6 separate regions of the Homo sapiens genome follow, and regions 2, 3, 4, 5 and 6 are each linked to region 1. The links are contacts of gene promoters, found by promoter capture Hi-C in human tissues and cell types (Jung and others, 2019). All regions are on one chromosome and are shown on one strand. The core of a region is centred on a gene start or on the middle of the fragment in contact, and the rest is flanking DNA. Distances in the headings are between cores, read along the strand shown. Region 1 holds the start of CPNE1 (copine 1). Region 2 has its middle 36 kb from the start of NORAD. Region 3 overlaps MMP24-AS1-EDEM2 (MMP24-AS1-EDEM2 readthrough). Region 4 has its middle 2.9 kb from the start of NORAD. Region 5 overlaps CNBD2 (cyclic nucleotide binding domain containing 2). Region 6 overlaps PHF20 (PHD finger protein 20).

The links. The method cuts DNA at HindIII sites, captures the fragments that hold promoters and counts their contacts. A contact is called where the count stands out against the background at its distance.
Region 2: a fragment that was not itself captured here is called in contact with the fragment with the promoter of CPNE1 in region 1 in 2 of the 25 tissues and cell types used here (dorsolateral prefrontal cortex and lymphoblastoid cells).
Region 3: a fragment that was not itself captured here is called in contact with the fragment with the promoter of CPNE1 in region 1 in 1 of the 25 tissues and cell types used here (dorsolateral prefrontal cortex).
Region 4: a contact is called between a fragment that was not itself captured here and the fragment with the promoter of CPNE1 in region 1, in 1 of the 25 tissues and cell types used here (dorsolateral prefrontal cortex).
Region 5: a fragment that was not itself captured here is called in contact with the fragment with the promoter of CPNE1 in region 1 in 1 of the 25 tissues and cell types used here (mesenchymal stem cells).
Region 6: a contact is called between a fragment that was not itself captured here and the fragment with the promoter of CPNE1 in region 1, in 2 of the 25 tissues and cell types used here (IMR-90 fibroblasts and lymphoblastoid cells).

What each region holds. Positions count from the first base shown.
Region 1 is chr20:35,663,158-35,666,408 of GRCh38, reverse strand. It overlaps CPNE1 (copine 1), which reads left to right and starts at 1,509. Exons shown (of 16, transcript NM_152925.3): 1 at 1,509-1,649. RBM12 (RNA binding motif protein 12) reads left to right here and starts at 1,509. Exons shown (of 3, transcript NM_006047.6): 1 at 1,509-1,649. RefSeq lists enhancers at 1,541-1,590, 1,172-1,676, 1,861-1,970, 2,291-2,340, 2,181-2,686 and 1 more and a silencer at 1,648-1,942. The HindIII fragment of the contact is 6,796 bases long and covers 1-3,025 here.
Region 2 is chr20:36,085,695-36,088,945 of GRCh38, reverse strand. No RefSeq gene overlaps it. Among named protein-coding and RNA genes, the nearest start is that of NORAD, 36 kb to the right of the region's middle. The HindIII fragment of the contact is 7,451 bases long and covers 1-3,251 here.
Region 3 is chr20:35,258,047-35,261,297 of GRCh38, reverse strand. The region is part of intron 2 of MMP24-AS1-EDEM2 (MMP24-AS1-EDEM2 readthrough); the gene reads left to right. All of the region lies in intron 4 of MMP24 (matrix metallopeptidase 24), which reads right to left. Among named protein-coding and RNA genes, the nearest start is that of MMP24-AS1-EDEM2, 18 kb to the left of the region's middle. RefSeq lists an enhancer at 1-24. The HindIII fragment of the contact is 5,720 bases long and covers 1-3,251 here.
Region 4 is chr20:36,052,263-36,055,513 of GRCh38, reverse strand. No RefSeq gene overlaps it. Among named protein-coding and RNA genes, the nearest start is that of NORAD, 2.9 kb to the right of the region's middle. RefSeq lists an enhancer at 1,132-1,311. The HindIII fragment of the contact is 6,332 bases long and covers 1-3,251 here.
Region 5 is chr20:35,983,431-35,986,681 of GRCh38, reverse strand. CNBD2 (cyclic nucleotide binding domain containing 2) reads right to left here. Exons shown (of 12, transcript NM_001365709.1): 5 at 2,544-2,700; 6 at 1,904-2,055. Among named protein-coding and RNA genes, the nearest start is that of CNBD2, 16 kb to the right of the region's middle. The HindIII fragment of the contact is 7,254 bases long and covers 1-3,251 here.
Region 6 is chr20:35,928,049-35,931,299 of GRCh38, reverse strand. PHF20 (PHD finger protein 20) reads right to left here. Exons shown (of 18, transcript NM_016436.5): 15 at 1-51. It also overlaps the pseudogene RNU6-937P. Among named protein-coding and RNA genes, the nearest start is that of SCAND1, 25 kb to the left of the region's middle. The HindIII fragment of the contact is 6,965 bases long and covers 1-3,251 here.

The sequences.
Region 1 (3,251 bases), core at 260-2,759:
AGTCTCGCTCTCCTGATGGTCTCCATCCCCTGACCTCGTGATCCTCCCACCTCGGCTTCCCAAAGTGCTGGGATTACAGGCGTAAGCCACCACGCCCAGCCAGAGAATAGCTTTTTCTATAATAAAATAATACTATAGTGAAGCCGTGGAGGGGTCACGATGGATTTAATTTTTTTTTTTTTTTTGAGACGGAATCTTGCTCTGTCGCCTAGGCTGGAGTGCTATGGCGTTATCTTGGCTCACTGTAACCGCCACCTCCCGGATTCAGGCGATTCTCCTGCCTCAGCCACCCTGGTAGCTGGGACCACAGGCGCCAGCCAGCACGCCCAGCTAATGTTTGTATTTTTAGTAGAGACGAGGTTTCGCCATGTTGGCCATGCTGGTCTTGAACCCCTGACCTCAGGTAATCCGCCCGCCTCGGCTTCCCAAAATGCTGGGATTACAGGCGTGAGCCACTGCGCCCTGCCCTAGATTAAAACTCTTTTTTTGTTTTTTTTTCTGAGACGAAGTTTCGCTTTTGTCATCCAGGGTGGAGTGCAATGGCGCCATCTGGGCTCACTGCAACCTCCACCTCCCGGGTTCAAGCGATTCTCCTGCCTCAGCCTCCCAAGTAGCTGGGACCACAAGCACCGCCACCACACCCAGCTAGTTTTTGTATTTTTAGTAGAGGCTGGGTTTTGCCTTGTTGGCCAGACCGGTCTCGAACTCCTGACCTCATGATCCGCCCTTCTCGGACTCCCAAAGTGCTGGGATTATAGGCGTGAGCCACCGCGCTCGGCCTGTATAAACTTTTTTTTTTTTTTTTTTTTTTTTTGAGATGGAGTCTTGCTCTTTCGCCCAGGCCGGAGTGCAGTGGCGCAATCTCGGCTCACTGCAAGCTCCGCCTCCCAGGTTCACGCTATTCTCCTGCCTCAGCCTCCCGAGTAGCTGGGACTACAGGTGCCCGCCACCACGCCCGGCTAATTTTTTGTATTTTTTAGAAGAGACGGGGTTTCACCGTGTTAGCCAGGATGGTCTCGATCTCCCGACCTCGTGATCCGCCCGCCTCGGCCTCCCAAAGTGCTGGGATTACAGGCGTGAGCCACCGCGCCCGGCCCCCGGCCTGTATAAACTCTTAAATGGGAAAAAAGAATCAGGTTTTGGCTGTTTTGTCAGGATATAATAACTAGCCACCACGTTGTGGTCCATTTAATCCTCAAAAAACTTAGAGGTAAGCACAATTCGCTCCTTCCGCGGAAACTGGAAGACGTGAAGCAATTTGCACAGTCTTGCAGTGAAGGGCCAAGCTAGACACTCATACCCAGCCCACCCGCCAGGGCCACTAGCCCAAGGTCGGTCCTGTGCGCCAACAGTCGCAAGCAGGGACTGAATATCCCCCTCTTAGCACAAAACCCAGTAACTTCCGGGAGATCGCCCGAGACCGTCAGCGCGCTTGCGCGGCCCCTTGACGTCAACCACGCCGTTCCTCCCCCTTCTGGAACGCGGAGCCGCTGAGCGGGCCGACGGCCATTTTGTGAAGCGGCGAAGGAGGTGGTGGCTGCGTTGGGCTCCGGGAAGCCGTTCGGGCTGGGGCTGTCGGCCGCGGGGCGGAGGCACTCGCGCGGGGGGTAATTCGGGGTCTGGGTTCTGGTGCCGCGCAGCTTTCCCCGGTAAGACTCCCGCAGCCCCTGAACGGGTGGGGCTGTGCGGGGCTCGTGGTGCCCCTTGGTGGCCCGGGGCGGGGCCTTCGGAGGCCTTCGAGCCCGCGGCAACTAGCGCCCCACACAAAGGGTCGAGGCAGGGCTGCAGGGGGAGTGGGATGCCACTTAGGCCTCTGAGATCTGAGAGGATGCAAGGAGGACGCAAGAGGATGAGCCTGCGTACCGAAGTGGGGACGAGGCCATAGCGAGGACTCCCCCGTGGTCTGAGAGGGGGCAGGCCAGAGCTGGCTGGCTCAGCGGCCTGCGAGCTAACGGGGACTGCAGTAAAAACACGCCTACATCCCGAGTACGGAGGATTTCTTGTCTCCCCCAGTGAAGCAGAGGTTATAACTACATCTCTGTGCCTGGAGGTGGGGAGATAATCGTAGTGAGGACACTCCTTCAACCCGAAATGGAAAGGAGGCCTTTGTGGCCTACCAGCAAAAGGGGACCCAGGTCACACCTGTGGGGAGGAAGCTGTAGTCGGTACACTCCTGTGAGTTCAGAAAGGAAGTGTCACAACCGGCCGCCTTCGTGGCCTGAAGGTGGAGGGGTTTGCAGTGAAATGCCTCCGAGGTCCATTGCTGGGGAGGGGCTTTACTCGAGGGTGTAGCAGTTTTGAGAAGCCGGCGTCTGAAGCTAGGAGGTGAGGGGGTGGGGTGAGTACGCCTCCTGAGGCTCTGAGAATTGTAGTAAGATGCCAGGCCTTTGGTCCCCCAGTAGGGAAGGGGCTGCTGTGAGCAGCACATTTACGGCTCCCTCGGGAGAGGATCCTGTGGCATTTCAGGAGGACGAGATCCAGTGGGCTGCGGAGGGTGGGTGCTTTTGATGGAGAGTTAATTGAGTTTCTCTGAAGCTTGGCTGCATTAGTTTGCAGCCACGTGAATTGGGTGGTGGGAGGGACTTTGAGGATCTACAGGTTAGTGACGGGGTTGGACGCCAGTGCAGCAGGCTTAGCTGCTAGGTTGTAAACGTACGGGCTTTTTGTGTGCCTCCAACGTGTGCTTTATAGTGACAAATCTGAGGGGCTCTTGTGAGGGTTACTCAGTATTAAGTGCTAAACATTTACTCATCTGCGTGGTGTCATGCTGAGAATTGCAGACTTTAAGAGATTTCTGGGCCCTAAAACCCTCCTTGGCTCCAGGATTCTCAGAGATAACCTAATATAAATTGAAGAAGTTGGTAGGGACCGTTTTATATTATTCAATAATAGAGTCAGTATAACCCACTGGAAAAAAGTGTGATGGCAACTGAAGGTTTGTTGAAGGGAGAGGCTAGGCTTGTGACTGCAGTATTTTAGAGCTTCTTGCTTGAATGGTTTGAAATGGTGTAATTTTTGCAAAATGCAGTCTTAGCAACAAGAATTGTCTGGGACCTTGTTAACTAGTGTATATTGTTAATGCATCTCAGAGCATTTGCAGTCGAGAAAAATCCCTCAAGTCTGGACACATAGGGAAATCTTGTTTTTTAAATTATAGAACTACAATACAAGACTGGTTGTACTTGTTTTTGAAATTTGGCAGTTTTGATAAGAATGGAGGATTTCTGGATTTAGTGGAAAGTGTGCAGACA
Region 2 (3,251 bases), core at 491-2,990, 420 kb before region 1:
AACAAAAAATTCTGCATTAGCAAACTCCTAGGCCACCCTCTCTGAGGGAAGGATCCATATCAAATTTATATGCTGTTCTCCTCAGCACCTAGTCCATCCAGGACCTGGTTCCTATGAAACAATGACTACAGATTTGCTGCCAGAATGGATACGAAAGAATTCCATTGGCCAGGTGCTGTGGCTCACGCCTGTAATCCCAACACTTTGGAAGGTCGAGCAGGTGGATCACCTGAGGTCAGGAGTTCGAGACCAGCCTCGCCAACATGGTGAAACCCCGTCTCTACTAAAATACAAAATTAGCTGGGCGTGGTGGCACATGCCTGTAATCCCAACTATTTGGGAGGCTGAATGTCTTGAATCTGGGAGGTGGAGGTTGCAGTGAGCCAAGATCACACCACTGCGCTCCAGCCTAGGCAGCAAGAGTGAAACTCTGTCTAAAAAAAAAAAAAAACAAAAAGGGGCCAAGTGTGATGGCTCACACCTGTAATCCCAGCACTTTGGGAGGCCGAGGCAGGCAGATCACCTGAGGCCAGGAGTTTGAGACCAACCTGGCCAGCATGGTGAAACCCTGTCTCTACTAACAACACAAAAAAATTAGCCAGGCTTGGTGGCTCATGCCTGTAAGTCCCAGCTACTCGGGAGGCTGAGACATGAGAATTGCTGAACCTGGGAGGCGGAGGTTGCAGTGAGCTGAGATTGTACCACTGCACTCTAGCCTGGGCAACACAGTGAGACTCGGTCTCAAAAAAAAAAAAAAAAAAAAGAGAATTCCATCACATCACCTCCAGTGGGGGGATATCCAGGAAGACAATTTCAGCTCACTATAAAGAACTCCCTAACAGTTGGAGCTACCCAAGAATGGAATGGACCACCTTGGGAGTGATGAACTCCTTGTCAATATATGTATTCAAGGAAAGATTAAGTCTTCATTGGGAAATTGAACTAGGATCCTGGTGACCTCTCAAGTTGAAAAAATGGGCAAGTTCTATTAGGAAGGGAAAGACAAGATCAAAGCTGTGCTTCCAGACAATTATGTGACTGTATGTGTAGAAGAAATGGGTGGGGAGGGATCAGAGGCAGGCAGGACCAGTAGGAAACCACTGCAGTGGTCCAGGAGATAAAAGAATAGACTGGGGCTGGGCACGGTGATTCATGCCTGTAATCCCAGCACTTTGGGAGGCCGAGGAGGGTGGATCACAAGGTCAGGAGTTCAAGACCAGCCTGGCAAACATGGTGAAACCCTGTCTCTACTAAAAATACAAAAAAATTAGCCAGGCATGGTGGTGGGTGCCTGTAATCCCAGCCACTTGGGAGGCTGAGGCAGAGAATTGCTTGAACCCGGGAGGCGGAGGTTGCAGTGAGCCGAGATCACACCACTGCACTCCAGCCTGGGCGACAGAGCGAAACTCGTCTCAAAACAAAACAAAACAAAACAAAAAACAAAAAAAAAGAATAGACTGGGAGGCCATGGGAATGGAAAGCCAATGCAAGTGTGACTTGAAAGAGGCACTGGCACTAGGCTGGTAGTCAGGAGCTGCAGGTTCTAGTCCTGCCCCTGCCATTAACTTATTGTGTAGTCTCAGGTAAATCCCAGCCCTTGAGTAGATCCCTTCCTTTATTCAAATTTCAGAGATCCCATCTGTAAAATGCAGAATGATCTGCAATATCCTTCCTAACTCTGGATTCTGTGAATGGGAGAGAGATAATGAAGGATAACTGGGATGATGTATTAGAAAGCCTTCATACACTTCAAAGTAATAATATCATTAGTACAAGTACCATTGTTATTATTATTTCAAAGGCAGCCTCACCAGAACGTGGTGACTGGACTGGTAGGAGGGGACAGGACAGAGTCAAGTGGCCTGCATCTGTGGGTGGACAAGACACCAGGATCTCTGATCTTTTGGGAAGGTCAGCTAACCACTGTATCCCTCCCCCAAGATCTGTGAAGACAAACAGTATTCTGTGCCCTGTCACCTCATTAACTGCTTCCTCATTCCTTTGAGCCACACCTTATACTTGGCTAAAAGAAGCAACCAATTCTAAGAAAAGTTAGCCTCTGTACTCCCTCCTTTCAATGTTCAAAAATGGGTCCTCGTCTGGGACTTTCCCTATATAATAATAAGTTTCATCATCTCATATAGGAATAGCCAACATTATTGAGTACTTAGTATATGTTAGGAAATTTATTTACATAATTTTCTCACCCTGGGAGGTAGCTGTAATGGCTTATGAAGATCTATAACTTTCTCAGTCACATAGCTTATGAGAAGGATTCCAGTACAAGTCTGTGCGATTTCAAGGCTGCATTCTTAAAGATTTTTTTTTTTTTTTTTTTTTGAAATGGAGTCTTGCTCCATCACCCTGGCTGGAGTGCAGTAGCACTATCTTTGCCCACTGCAACCTCCATCTCCCGGGTTCAAGCGATTCTCATGTCTCAGCCTCCCAAGTAGCTGGGATTACAGGTGCCTGCCACCATGCCTGGCTAATTTTTGTATTTTTAGTAGAGATGGGGTTTCACCATGTTGGCCAGGCTGGTCTCGAACTCTTAACCTCAGGTGATCTGCCTGCCTCAGCCTCCCAAAGTGCTGAGATTACAGCCGTGAGCCACCCTGCCCGGCACCCTAAAGATTTTTACTATGTCTTTTTGTAGCAACTTAGGGAGGAGGGCAAGATCAGTGTTGTTGCCACTTTATAGCTGGGGAAACTGAAGCTCAGAGAAGGTAAATTCTGTCATTTGGACAAATTAGTAAAGTCTTCTATGGTGCAGTTTGGTGCTGTTTCTACTTCTCAGAGCTTCCTCCTCTGCACCTTCCAGGACCTCCCCAGTCCTCCTAGGAGTGATGAGTAGAGACTTGCCCAGACTACTTAAGGGAAGGACTTACACTTGTCCTTCTCCTGGGGAAGGGAAAGGTTCCTGAAAGGTGAAAGTTAATTTCCACCTCCCCTCCCCACCCACCAACTCACACACCCTAAACCAGGACCTTGTGGTGACCCGCGCTGAAGGCTTACAGAGTGAGTCATGCGGGGCTGACCTGTCAGAGTCACCCAAGCACAAGATACTAAGCTTAGTTTAGAGGGGTGGAAAAGTAGGCAAAGTGCTCTCATCCTCAGGAGCACAGTCCACTTGCAGCTTGTGCCCCTCACTCCTTTCATCCCAAAATACTGCAAACATTTGGGAACACTGTACAAGGGCCTTAGAGCAGAGGGAACACATGACAAATAAGAGTGAGTCCAAGGAGTTGAGATTG
Region 3 (3,251 bases), core at 508-3,007, 410 kb after region 1:
CATTGACCAGAAAGGAAGCACGAGGCCAGTGGAGCGCCAGCAACCAGATCCTCTGAAAGCCAACTCCCCTGGGCTTCTGTATTGTGCCTAGGACAGGACAAGGAGGCCTGAACTTAGGGGGATGAAGTAACCGCAGCTTTGGGGAGAAAATGCAGGGGGTAGGGAGTCAGGTAGGCTGTGGATCACCAGTCCTGACTCCTGTCTGCCCAGTGTCAGACCCTTGCTTGCCTTGACCTCTGGCATTTGTAGCCCCTTGAGCCCTGCCTCTTATCTTCTGGCCCTAAGGCATGGCTCGGCCCATTCCTGCCACCTGTAAGTCCAGGGAGGCTGCCAGGAACCTAGGAGGTGGTCTAGAGTCCTACTGCCCACTCTGGCCCCAGCGTCACTGGCCTAGGGACACATGGGGGTGGGGATTGTTTGGCCTTCCTGGCTTAGGTCTCTGGAAGAGAGAAGAACCCCATGGGGCAGACCCAGGCCACGGGCAGTACATGCCTCCCACACTACTGACACCGCCAGTGTCTTCTGTGAAGCCACCTTTGAGCAACGGAAAGGAAGGGGGATGGGCAAGATCAGTGCAAGGTTGGCCAAAAGCCTGGGGCTGGCCTTCTGCTGGCATGAGAGGGCCAGGCCGCCCCCAGCTCCTTACTCAGGTCCTGGCCCCTCTGGCAGCAGGGAAGGGTGAGCTCATCGCTGAGCTCCATCCCAAACAAACTGGTAGAGCCAGCGGAAGGCAGCTCTGCTTCCTGGGGTCCAGTCCTGGCTGTGCTCCTGGGCTATTCTATGACCTGGGACAAGCTGTTCAGGGCCTCTGTCTCCTGAGCAGGCTCTTCCCCAGGGGCTGTCCACAGGGAGCTCAGCTGGGAACCAGGGAACACGGCTCTGAGCACTGTGGGAGACTCAAAACCTTTGTCCGCAGCCTTGTCTCTTGCTCTTTTAACCCCTGTTCTGGGTCTGCAGAGAACAGGAGTGACCCCTTAAAGGAAAGAGGCCTGTGGTTTGGGTCCAGGAACCAAAAGGAAGGGAAGAGCGAGGGAGCCAGTATCCTGCTGCACAGAAACCCAAGAGAGCCCTGAGGGGGAGACAGAGGGAGCAGGGCAGGGGCAGGAGGACTCCCTGAGCTTGTGAGGTGAAGGCAGAGGTATGAGGAGGAGAGGCCTGCTATGAGGACCCCATGCTCCATGGGCAGGAGGCTGCTAGGGTCTTCACTCTTCAAGAGGGTGAGCGGCAGGGAAGCAGAGTGGTCAGGAATGCAGTCTCTGGGAGCCAGACTGCCTGGTTTTGAATCCCAGCTCTGCCATGTCCTAGCAGTGTGACATTTTAAATTCTTCCTCTGGAAGATAGAAGGAACAATGGCACCTTCGTCATAGGGATGTGGGTGAAGATTCATGGGGCAGGGTGTGTAATGCGCTGATACCAGCTCCTGGTACAGAAGTATTACCCTTCATTAGCAGGGTCCTGTTGAGCTGTGTGTGAGCACCAGCACCCCTGATAGGGTGTGTTCCTGTAAGTCCCTGGGCCTCCGAGCAAGTCCCCAGCAGTCTACTCGGCTACTCAAGTGGACCTTGTCTCTGCCTCATTTCTTTCTTTTAGGATCTCCATATTTGGTCGTTCCCATCTCATTAACTCCCCCAGCCCCACGAAAGGTGATAGCATTTCCCTTTGCCTCTGTTCTTCTGCCAGTGCTGCCCCTTCCCCTGGAATAACCTGATTCCTTCAAAGTTCAGCTCCATGCCTGTCTTCCAGGAAGCCTTCCATGACTTCCCAGCTGGCAGTGAGTGCTCCTTCTGCTGTGCCCTCCCAGCAGTTTCCCTGAACTGCCTTTATGGCACTGACCGCTTCCTCCCCACGTGATTGCCACTAGTGCACATGCTCGCTGCCCCAGGACTGTGGGTTCCTTGAGGACAAGCTTTGTGTTGAAGAACCAGGTGACAGCCCCCGGAATGGAACAGCGCCAAAAGCACCGTATTTTACCAAGGGAAATACTCGGACCACCTGCAGCAGAACCACCTGTGGTGACTTAAAAATGCGGAGTCCTGGGGTCACACCTGGCTCTGCCACTTTCCAAAGGGGTGAATTTCCTATTTTTTTAAAAAGTATTTTCTTTCTTTTTTATTTTTGAGACAGGATCTCACTCTGTCACCCAGGTTGGAGTGTAGTGGTGCAATCTCGGCTCACTTGAACCTCCGCCTCCCGGGTTCAAGCCATTCTCCTGCCTCAGCCTCCCGAGTAGCTGGGATTACAGGCATGTGCCACCACACCCGGCTAATTTTTGTATTTTTAGTAGAGACGGGGTTTTGCCATGTTGGCCAGGCTGGTCTCGAACTCCTGACCTCAGGTGATCTGCCCCCCCTCGGCCTCCCAAAGTGCTGGGATTACTCCAGTGCTCCCATCGCACCTGGCCCGGGGAGCCTTTTAAACACATGGAGGAGGTGGGGAAGATATTCTGATTCAGGAGGTTTGGTTTGGGACGTAGGCAATCTTTTTTGTTGTTTTTTTTTTTTAAGTTCTCCAGGTGAATTGTATAATGGTTGGGTCAGGCTGACACAACCTGAAGCAAATGCTCGACCTCAACATCACTAAAAGTGGGACAGTCTGCATCATATGTATTTGCTAATATGGTGAATAGGAAGTACCAGCACCACCTAGGAAGTATTCTTGCCAAAAAAATTGAACTTGAATCTAGTCAGCCTGTAAATCTAATGAACAACATTCAGGAATTATGGGCAAGAGAGACGTATTAAAAGTAAACTTGATTCTAGTCACGCCAAATGATTATACTCGGGACACCTGACCCAGTTTCTTCAACAAATATATGGAGGGAAACGTGTGTGTAGGACGGGGGTGTTTTAAATAAAAAGGGCTTTAAGAGACATGTCAGCCATGTGTGTGTGGATCTTGTTTGGATCCTGATTCAAGCAAACAACTGTAAAAGACATTTCCAAGGTACTTTGGGAAAGTGAACTCGAACTGGGTATTAGATTTTAAAAAATTATTGTTAATTTTGTTGGGCTTGATAATGATTGTGTGCTTATGTTAAAAATTAGCCTTTATCTGTTAGAGGTATATACTAAAGTATTTAAAGGTGAAATGTTAGAATGCCTGAGATTTTCTTTAAAATACATCAGCCAAAAAAAGGTAGATAAATAGGAATGCCACAACGTTGATAATTGCTGAGGCAGGTGGTGGGTATCTGGGAGATCATAGAAGCATTCTTCCTACTTTTGTGAGTTTGAAATTTTCCATAATGAGAG
Region 4 (3,251 bases), core at 224-2,723, 390 kb before region 1:
CAAAACCCTCTCTCTACAAGAAATATAAAAATTAGCTGGGCATGGTGGCGTGTGTCTATAGTCCTAGCTACTTGGGAGTCTGAGGCAGGAGGATCACCTGAGCCCAGGGAGGACGAGGCTGTAGTGAGCCATAATCACACCACTGCACTGCACTGCACTGCAGCCTGGGTGACAGATTGAGATCCTTCTCAAACAAAAACAAAAAAAAAAACAAAGATGAGGCACGAGGGACACAAAGGGCAGGTCAAAGGGCAGGTCATGGAAGGCAGTGGTCGTGGAAATAAGTTTGATTTTGTTCTAAGTGTGATGAAAAGCCACTGAAGGCTTAAACAGGAGAGTTATAAGATCTGATTTTTGATTAAAAGTTCATTCTGGCTTCTGTAGGGAGAACGGATTAGAAAGGGAGAGCAGTAGAAACCAGAACAACAACAATTAAGGGGCTATTAGAGTCATCCAAATGAAAGACGTTGCTAGCTTGGATTTGGATACAGATCAGCACTGTCAATGGGACTTCCTGGGATGGTGGGAACATTCTCCACCTGTGCTCATATGGTAGCCACTGGCTCCTAGTTCCCTGTGACTCTTGAGCACTTGGAATGAGGGTGGTGTGGCTGAAGAACTGAATTTTTAATTTCATGTCATTCTAATGAATTACAATTTAAATAGGCACACGTAGCTAGTGGCTACTATAATGGACAGCACAGGGAATTGGCTGTATTTGAAATATATTTAGGAGGCAGATAGGACTGGGGATGGTTGCCGTGTGGGAAGTGAGAGAATGGGGAATCAAGGGAGATCGAGAATTACTTGGTGTATTAGTCCATTTTCACGCTGCTGATAAAGACATACCCGAGTCTGGGAAGAAAAAGAGGTTTAATCGGACTTACATTTCCACATGGCTGGGGAGGTCTCAGAATCATGGCAGGAGGTGAAAGGCACTTCTTACACAGCAGCAGCAAGAGAAAATGAGAAAGATGCAAAAGCGGAAACCCCTGATAAAACCATCAGATCTCATGAGACTTATTCACTACCATGAGAACAGTATGAGGGAACCACCCCATGACTCAAATTATCTCCCACTGGGTCCCTCCCATAACGTGTGGGAATTATAGGAGTACAATTCAAGATGAGATTTGGATGGAGACACAGCCAAACCATATTACTTGGGAAACAGGTGGATGATACTGCCATTTACTGATAGGGAAGAGCAGGCTCTGGGGAGATACCAAGAGTTTTGTTTTGCACAAGAGGAGTTTCAGATACTGTTGGAACATTCAAGTAGAGCTATCAGGTAGAAAGCAGAATGTATGCTGAGCACAGTGGCTCATGCCTGTAATCTCAGCACTTTGGGAGGCCGAGGTGGGCGGATCATGAGGTCAAGAGTTCCAGACCAGCCTGGCCAACATGGTGAAATCCCATCCCTACTAAGAATACAAAAATTAAAGGGATGTGGTGGCACGTGCCTGTAATCCCAGTTACTCAGGAGGCTGAGTCAGGAGAATCGCTTGAACCTGGGAGGCGAGGGTTGCAGGGAGCCGAGATCACACCACTTCACTCCAGCCCAGACACAGCAAGACTGCGTCTCGGAAAAAAAATAATAAAAGAAAAAGAAAAAGAAAGCAGGATGTATACATGTTTTTCATCATCCTCATCTTTAGGTTCCAGGAATACCCACATGTTTGGCTGCTTAGGCGGTGGGAAGCTCAGAAAGGGGACCAGGAGCCTCTCCTACTCCTTGTCTTGGCTAATGTATCAACTACCAAACTACCCATTAGCGCTAGTGTTTGAAACTTGTATAATCCATGGCTCTTCCTTCCCCTCCTCCCTCTTCTCTCAGGTATTCAGCCCACTGGCTTCTTCTCTTGAAATGCTAGAAACACTCACTTCACCGGTTTTCTACTTCTGTGCAACTCTCCTGGCTCAGGGCCTTGTCATCTCATTGTGGACTAGAGCCCCTGGACTTCTCGCCACCTCTCCTGTCCACCTTCCACCAGCAAGGCCTTTCTGACTGCAGGATTTTCCTCCTGGGAATCATGTCTGAGTCTGCATCAAGAGTCTTAATCCTTTGATCTTTCTTTACATTTCCAGAATTGTATCCAAAGGAACTCAGGGCCAGTGGTGGTAGCTCATGCTTGTACTCCCAGCACTTTGGGAAGCCGAGGCAGGTGGATCACCTGAGGTCAGGAGTTTGAAACCAGCCTGGCCAACACAGTGAAATCTCATCTATACTAAAAATACAAAAATTAGCTGGGCATGGTGGCACACGTTTGTAGTCCCAGCTACTTGGGAGGCTGAAGCAGGAGAATCATTTGAACTCAGGAGTTGGAGGTTGCAGTGGGCCGAGATGGCACCACTGCACTCCAGCCTGGATGACAGAGCGAGACCCTGTCTCAAACATAAATAAATAAATAAATAATTTTAAAAATAATAAAAATGCAGGCCAGGTGCGGTGGCTCACACCTGTAATCCCAGCACTTTGGGAGGCGAAGGTGGGTGGATCACCTGAGGTCACAAGTTCGAGACCAGCCTGACCAACAGGGTAAAACCCCGTCTCTACTAAAAATACAAAAAATTAGCCTGGCCTGGTGGCGAGTGCCTGTAATCCCAGCTACTTGGGAGGCTGAGGCAGGAGAATCACTTGAACCCAGGAGGTGGAGGTTGCAGTGAGTCAAGATCGCACCATTTCACTACAGCCTGGGCAACAGAGCAAGACTCTGCCTCAAAAAAAAAAAATAAAAATACAAATACAAACAAAGGAACTCAGAGGCTGGGGGCGGTGGCTCACGCCTGTAATCCCAGCACTTTGGGAGGCCAAGGCAGGTGGATCACGAGGTCAGAAGTTCGAGACCAGCCTGGCCAACATGGTGAAACCCCCGTCTCTACTCAAAAATACAAAAATTAGCTGGGCGCGGTGGCGGGCGCCTATAATCCCAGCTACTCGTGAGGCTGAGGTAGGAGAATCACTTCAACCTGGGAGGTGGAGGTTGTAGTGAGCCAAGATCGCGCCACTGCACTCTAGACTAGGTGACAGCGCAAGACTCCATCTAAAACAAAAAACAAAAAAACCCAAAGGAATTCAGAAGTCTACACAAAATGTGAAAATTCACGAGGAAGTTCATCACAGCATTAATTCTAAAAGCTGGAAGTGTCATTTCCAACCTTATCTTAATTGACACATCAGCAGCATTTGACACTGTTGATAAATTCCCCTTGAAACACTTTCCTCATTTACTTCCAGGACACCACACTCT
Region 5 (3,251 bases), core at 511-3,010, 320 kb before region 1:
TAACTCAAGGTGACTCAGGCCTCAATGCGCGCACTGAGTTAAGGTCAGGGCACCAGAGGTGAACACGCTCAGTGCCATGTCAGGGACGAAGGTCTGAAGACACCAGAAGAAAAGTAGGGCCACCATAGAAGAAGTACCTACCACGCACCAAGCACTGGGCCATACACTTCCCATGATCATTCCATTCCATCCTCACCATGACCTTGGGAGAAGGGTATCCTTATCCCCATTTTACAGAGCAGGAGGCTAAAACACAGAGAAATGGCGTGACCTATCTAGGGTCACATCGCTGGTAACCTAAGAGCTGAGATTGGAGCCAGACCTATTTTTCCACAGTATGGAAAAAAAAAACAGCTCCTCCCTTTAGGACTAAATCCCCACTTTTCCAGGGGATGAAGCTACCTCTCTCAGCCCCAGCCACAGGAACCAGACCCCTCGGCCATCACACTTCTCTGTAGCTGTGCAGCCCTACAGCCCAAATTTTCAGGGCCAGTGCAGATACTTCATTGGATTTTTATTCCTTTTACATAAAGGCAAATAACTGAAGAGCAATTAAATGAGATTTCACTTGCATATCCTTACGTGGCCTTTCATGCACATAAGTATTCAAAAACCAAAAATCTTTTGCTATGTATGAGTTCTGCTTTTAAATATGATACCCAGTTACGGTGCTTACTTTCTGACTCACATGTGATTGTAATTATTTATATCCTGTTATTCACCTTACTCAATATTTATTTGTTGAGCACCTGCATGTGTCTGGCAGTGTGACAACATAAGGATTATAGTAGTGACAAAGACAGATCTATCTGGTCTCTGTCACCATACTGCTTACTGTCTGAGGGGGTATATAAACTGTAAAGAAATTACCATGCAATCAAGAATTATAGTTTGGGCCAGGCGCAGTGGCTTACGCCTGTAATCCCAGCACTTTGGGAGGCCAAGGTAGTCAGATCACTTGAGGCCAGGAGTTCAACACCACCCTGGCCAACATAGTGAAACCCCATCTCTACTAAAAATACAAAAAAGTTAGCTGGGAGTGATGGTGTATGACTGTAATTCCAGCTATGTGGGAGGCTGAGGCAGGAGAATTGCTTGAACCCAGGAGGCGGAGGTTGCAGTGAGATGAGATCATGCCACTGCACTCCAGCCTGGGCAACAGAGCAAGACCCTCTCTCAAAAAAAAAAAAAAAAGGAATTATAGTTTTATAGTTTGGGCTGAGCATGGGGGCTCATGTCTGTAATCCCAGCACTTTAGGAGGCCAAAGTGGCAGGATCACTTGAGACCAGGAGTTCAAGACCAGCCTGGGCAACATAACAAGATTCCATCTCTACAAATAATAGAACAATTAGCTGGATGTGGCAGCACACCTACAGTCCTAGCTACTAGGACCACACTCTGTTGCCCAGGCTGGAGTGCAGTGATGCGATCACAACTCACCACAGCCTCGAACTCCTGGGCCCAAGTGATCCTCCCACCTCAGCCTCCCAAGTAGCTGAAACTATAGGTATGTGCCACCACACCCAGCTAATTTTTTTTAATTTTTTATTTTGTAGGGACAGGATTTCACTATGTTGTCCAGGCTGGTCTTGAACTCCTGGGTTCAGGGATCCTCCCACCTTGGCCTCCTAAAGTGCTGGGATTACAGGAGTGAGCCACTGTGCCCAGTCCCGTGTTAGCTATTCTTACTATTACTTTCAATAAAGAAGGGATATTTGAGCTGAGACCCGAAGGGATAGTAGGAGTCTGCAGAGAGAGAAGGTGGGTACGAGGTGGGACTTCAGAGCATCCCAGACAGAGAGAACAGCAACCAGTATGTTTCCCACCAGGCCTAGGACAGACAAAGTCAGGCAGCTAATAAACACACAAGGGGAAAAAAATGTTGAATGAAGGCAGAGTTACCTAAAAAATTCAAACCGATACTGAGCATCCTTCTGAACTTCCTGGTCCAGCTTATTAGCAAAGAAGTCCTCCCGGTCAACAACCAGGAACTCCGTTTCTTCCATACAGACGATGGTGGACCTCCTCACTGAAGCATGCAGAACGTCCATTTCCTGTTGGGTGGACAGGGCAAGGGCAAGTGTGAGGCCACCTCCACTTCCTGTCCTCAGCCTTACACACATCTTCCGTGCCTCCATCTTCCCCCTGAATTCTCTCCTCACCAGACTGTGTGTTCCCTAGCCTCCTCTATTCTCCTGCACATTCTCCCACTGGGGCCCACTCCCCTTCTTCTTAATCTGCTGCTTATGGAAAAAGAGGCAACAGACCTGAACAGGCCAGAGGGGAGGAAGCTGGAGAGGCCTCACTATGGAGTCACTTCATCTCTAAAGGGCTGTATCAGGAACATACTTCTTAAACATCACAGATGAAGAGGCTGATCTTAGTCCAACTCAATTAGCATTTGACAGGTAAGGGGCCCACACGGGACACTGACTTGTACAGAGTACTAGGCAGGACTGGGCCTGGCTGAGAGGTTCTAGCAGAAGTCCTGTCACCTCCACCCACTCCACCCCAGGAAACTGGGTCCTTCCCCTGGGCTTACCCCAAAACAGCTACCCTTGTGCAGCAATTTCGGGTGGGGATCTAGGAAGGCACTGCTGCCATCCTCGTCCTTGGTTATTGCAACTGTGCCCAGGTAGATGAAATAAAAGCTGTTGCCCTTCTGCCCCTTCTTGATGATCACACGCCTGCGACCAAACCTGGGAAAAGACCACTGCTAGTTGATTGGGTAGTGACATGGGGGCAGGTCCAAGCTGAGAGGAGCTCTGGACTGGTTGTGCTCTTTGCTTTGGGATATAAGAGCACAGACTTGGACCAGAAGGGCCCTCAGGACAGCCCAGCCCTGCCAGTCAAGCTGGAGCCTTTCACTAACACCTATCCCGTTGCCTGCCTCGGTTGAACTGAAGCTTCCTGAGAGCAGAGTCTTTGCCAGTCTGGGTCACTGCTGCGTGTGCTTGGGCACAGTGAATGTTCATTGAACATAGTGGAATAAATGAGTGAACACATGCTGAAAGCAATGAATGGGTTAGTAGAGTCACTAAATGATTAGGAGGACTGGCTTTAGCGTTAGCCCAGGATCCAAATCCTGGTTCTGCTCTTAGCTGTGTGACACTGAGCAATGGATATCCCCTCTCTGATCCTTGGTTTCTCTTGTCTGTAAAATGCAGATGAGTATGCCTAGAATGAGACACAGATAATGGTCTTATCATAATTACCAGCAGCCCACTACCCAACTGGGCACCCTTGGGGT
Region 6 (3,251 bases), core at 209-2,708, 260 kb before region 1:
CCCTGCTCAGCCACTCCTTGTCATACCAGTACTTGAAGCCAGGCCTCTGACCTACAGCAGTGACAACAAGAGGGTTAAAACAAGGCCTGAAGGAAACCCAGGCCATTTCATCACTCTCACACAATTATCATACCAACTACTGGAAGAACAGATTAGTATACTCATTTTGTTCATTTATTCATCCAGTGTACATTTTCTTGGCACCTACCATATGCTGGGCTCTCTATTAGGTAGTGGGGATAAGGTAGTGAATAAGGCATGTACTTCCTCATTTCCTGGAACTGGCCAGAGGTGAGCTGGGCACCTAGATTATCTCCAAATTTATATCATAATATTCTCTCCCCTACTTAAAACCTTCCACTGCCTCCTACTGCTCAAAGGAGAATACCCAAAGCCCCAACTCTCTAACTCTGGCTTACTGAGGCCCACAGGACCCAGTTCCTTCCTGTCTTCCCCTCCATACCTTTACACTGGCCTCATTTCAGTTTCTGAAACACATCAAACTCTTTCCAGCCTCAAGACCTTCACTTGCGCATCCCTTCTGTCTGCAGCACTATTCCCTAAGCCTTTGCAGGGTTGGCTCCTTACCACCTCCTCAGAAAGGCTTTTATTTTTTTCCTGCTTTGTTGGCAGGGTCTCACTCTGTTGCCCAGGCTACAGTGCAGTGGCATGATCATGGCTCACTGCAGCCTCAGCCTCCCTGGGCTCAGGTGATCCTCCCACCTCAGCCTCCCGAGTATCTGGGACTACAGGTGTGCACCACCATGCCTGGCTAATTTTTCTTTCTTTCTTTCATTTTTTTTTGATGGGGTTTTGCCATGTTGCCCAGGAGTGGGGCCTTCTGCTACTTCCCAAAGTTGAGAGCATCATCAGTGCCTCAAGTCGTCTTATCAATTTTCCCGTCACGGCATTCATCACTACCTTACACAGTCTTGTTTACTTAACTTGTTTTAACTTCTGTTTCTGGCTCCCAACCCAATTAAGAGCCGAAAGAGTAGGAACTATCTTGTTCATGGTTGTATCCCCAGTGCCTGGCAAAAGGCATCTTGAATGGACTTATCAAATGAATGGAAAGATGCCTCAAGTCCCCCTGCAAATGTACCTTCTACCACCTAACTCAACAGATGATCAGGCCCCTTCCCTTCTCTGTACCTGTTATCCATTCATTAGAACAACATAGGAACTGGATGGCTTCAGCCATCCTATTTGTTACAGGGCTCCTTAGGAAGGACTGAAAACAAAAGCACATGTGACTTATCAACATGACCTGCTCCAAAGTCCCAGGGAAAAGCTTTCTACCAGACTGTTGTTCGACTGTCAATATCTATAAAAACCTTGAAACACCCAGGTGATTCCTATTAAGGTCTTTGAGCTACTTCTGGCTTTACTAATACACATGGTGGGGATACACCTTGATTCTGTTAAAACTATTTTTAAGTAGCCTTTAAAAAACGAATCTGTTAAACTTTTGGTCCAGCCCTCTGCAGAGTCAGTCTATAAAGGTAGACCCTGTGGCAGACATGCTGTGCTCAGTTCAAGGAAGAGTCTATTCACAGTATTGGCGATTAAAGTCGTAGAAGTTCAGTAAGTGCACAGGATTTGATGAAGATGGTGTGTGTGACTTCTAAAGAAGGAAAAGTAGAGAGAAAGACACAGTAGGGAAAAAAAGATTTTTAAAAGGTATGCTAAGGAGCCTTCAGGAATATATGGGGGAACCCCAGAGGCAGCTGCTGCAGGCAGTGCCTAGAGCAGCAGGATTCAGAGCTGCACTACCTGTTTTACAAGGCAAAGGTATGAGACAACTGGTTCTCATCGCCTGTCTGGCATTAGCTGGTGGCGTGATCTTGGGCCAGTCATGTCCCTTCTGGACTTGTGTTTGTTCACCTGTCAAATCTTCTGACTATTCTTTCCTTGGGATAAAGGGACAAGTGGAGGCAGATGCTTCTAGTACAAGGAGACAGTGTCACAACAGAGGCCTTCAGGCCCAGAGGGGACCTGCATGCTGTTAAATGAACTGGTGGCCAGTCCCTCCCTAGACAACCAACAAAATCAAGAGATCTGGCTCTGCAAACCAGTTCTAATTCCAATTTGCTTTATGAGGAAAGTCAACTGTATCCTCAAGGATCAATTTCTTCCTCATAAGCAAAACTGGGAGTAGGAGAACCAGGCCCACCTTATCGGACAGAAAGGAGTAACGGAAGCAGAGGCTCTCAAGCACTGTCTAGCTCTAAAGGAATCAGGGGACTAGAGCTGAGGGAGAACCTTACAAGTGGTAATGGGAGACAATGTCACCATCCCATGGAAACCAAGACAATGAACTGCATATTTACAATCCACCCCTTCTAGAAAGGAGCAATCAAGAGCCACAGGTGACCCCTATAGCCATGGAACTAACTGATCCTGCTAAGGAATTAAGTCACTGCTCAGGGTGGCAACAGGCTCTACCCAACCATGCCTTCCTCCTTCCCCTCAAGGGCATTTCTCCCTTCAGGATGGCAGTGATGTGATGAAGGGCAGATGTTGCCACAGGGGGCAAAGGCAAGTTTCTAACCCTCCAATAGCCCCCAAAAGCCAAAGACAGAGCCCACACGCCCATCCTCATGAGTCCTCAAGAAAAGGAAAAGGTGCCACTTCGGCAGCACATACACTAAAACAGGAACAATACAGAGAAGATTAGCATGGCCCCTACACAAGGATGACACTCAAACTTGTGAAGTTTCTACATTTTTCTACACAGCTTCAATCAGGCAGGATGAAAGTTCTGGAGATCTGCTGTACGACATTGTGCTTATAGTTATTAACAACAATACTGTATTGTTGAGGGTAGATCTCATGCTTTTTTTTTTTTTTTTTTTTTTTTGAGACGAAGTTTCGCTCTTGTTGCCCTGGCTGGAGTGCACTGGCATGATCTCGGCTCACTGCAACCTCCGCCACCTGGGTTCAAGTGATTCTCCTGCCTCAGCCTCCCAAGTAGCTGGGGTTACAGGCGCCTGTCACCATGCCCAGCTAATTTTTGTATTTTTAGTAGAGATGGAGTTTCACCACATTGGCCAGGCTGGTCTCGAACTCCTGATCTCAGTTGATTCACCCGCCTTGGCCTCCCAAAGTGCTGGGATTACAGGCGTGAGCCACTGCGCCCGGCCTCATGCATTTTTTTTAAACCATAATTAAAGAAAAGGAAAAGTTCTAGCTCAAGGCCAGGCCTTCCACTAGGTGGGCCCCTTCACACGTGTGCTCTTATTGCTACGTTC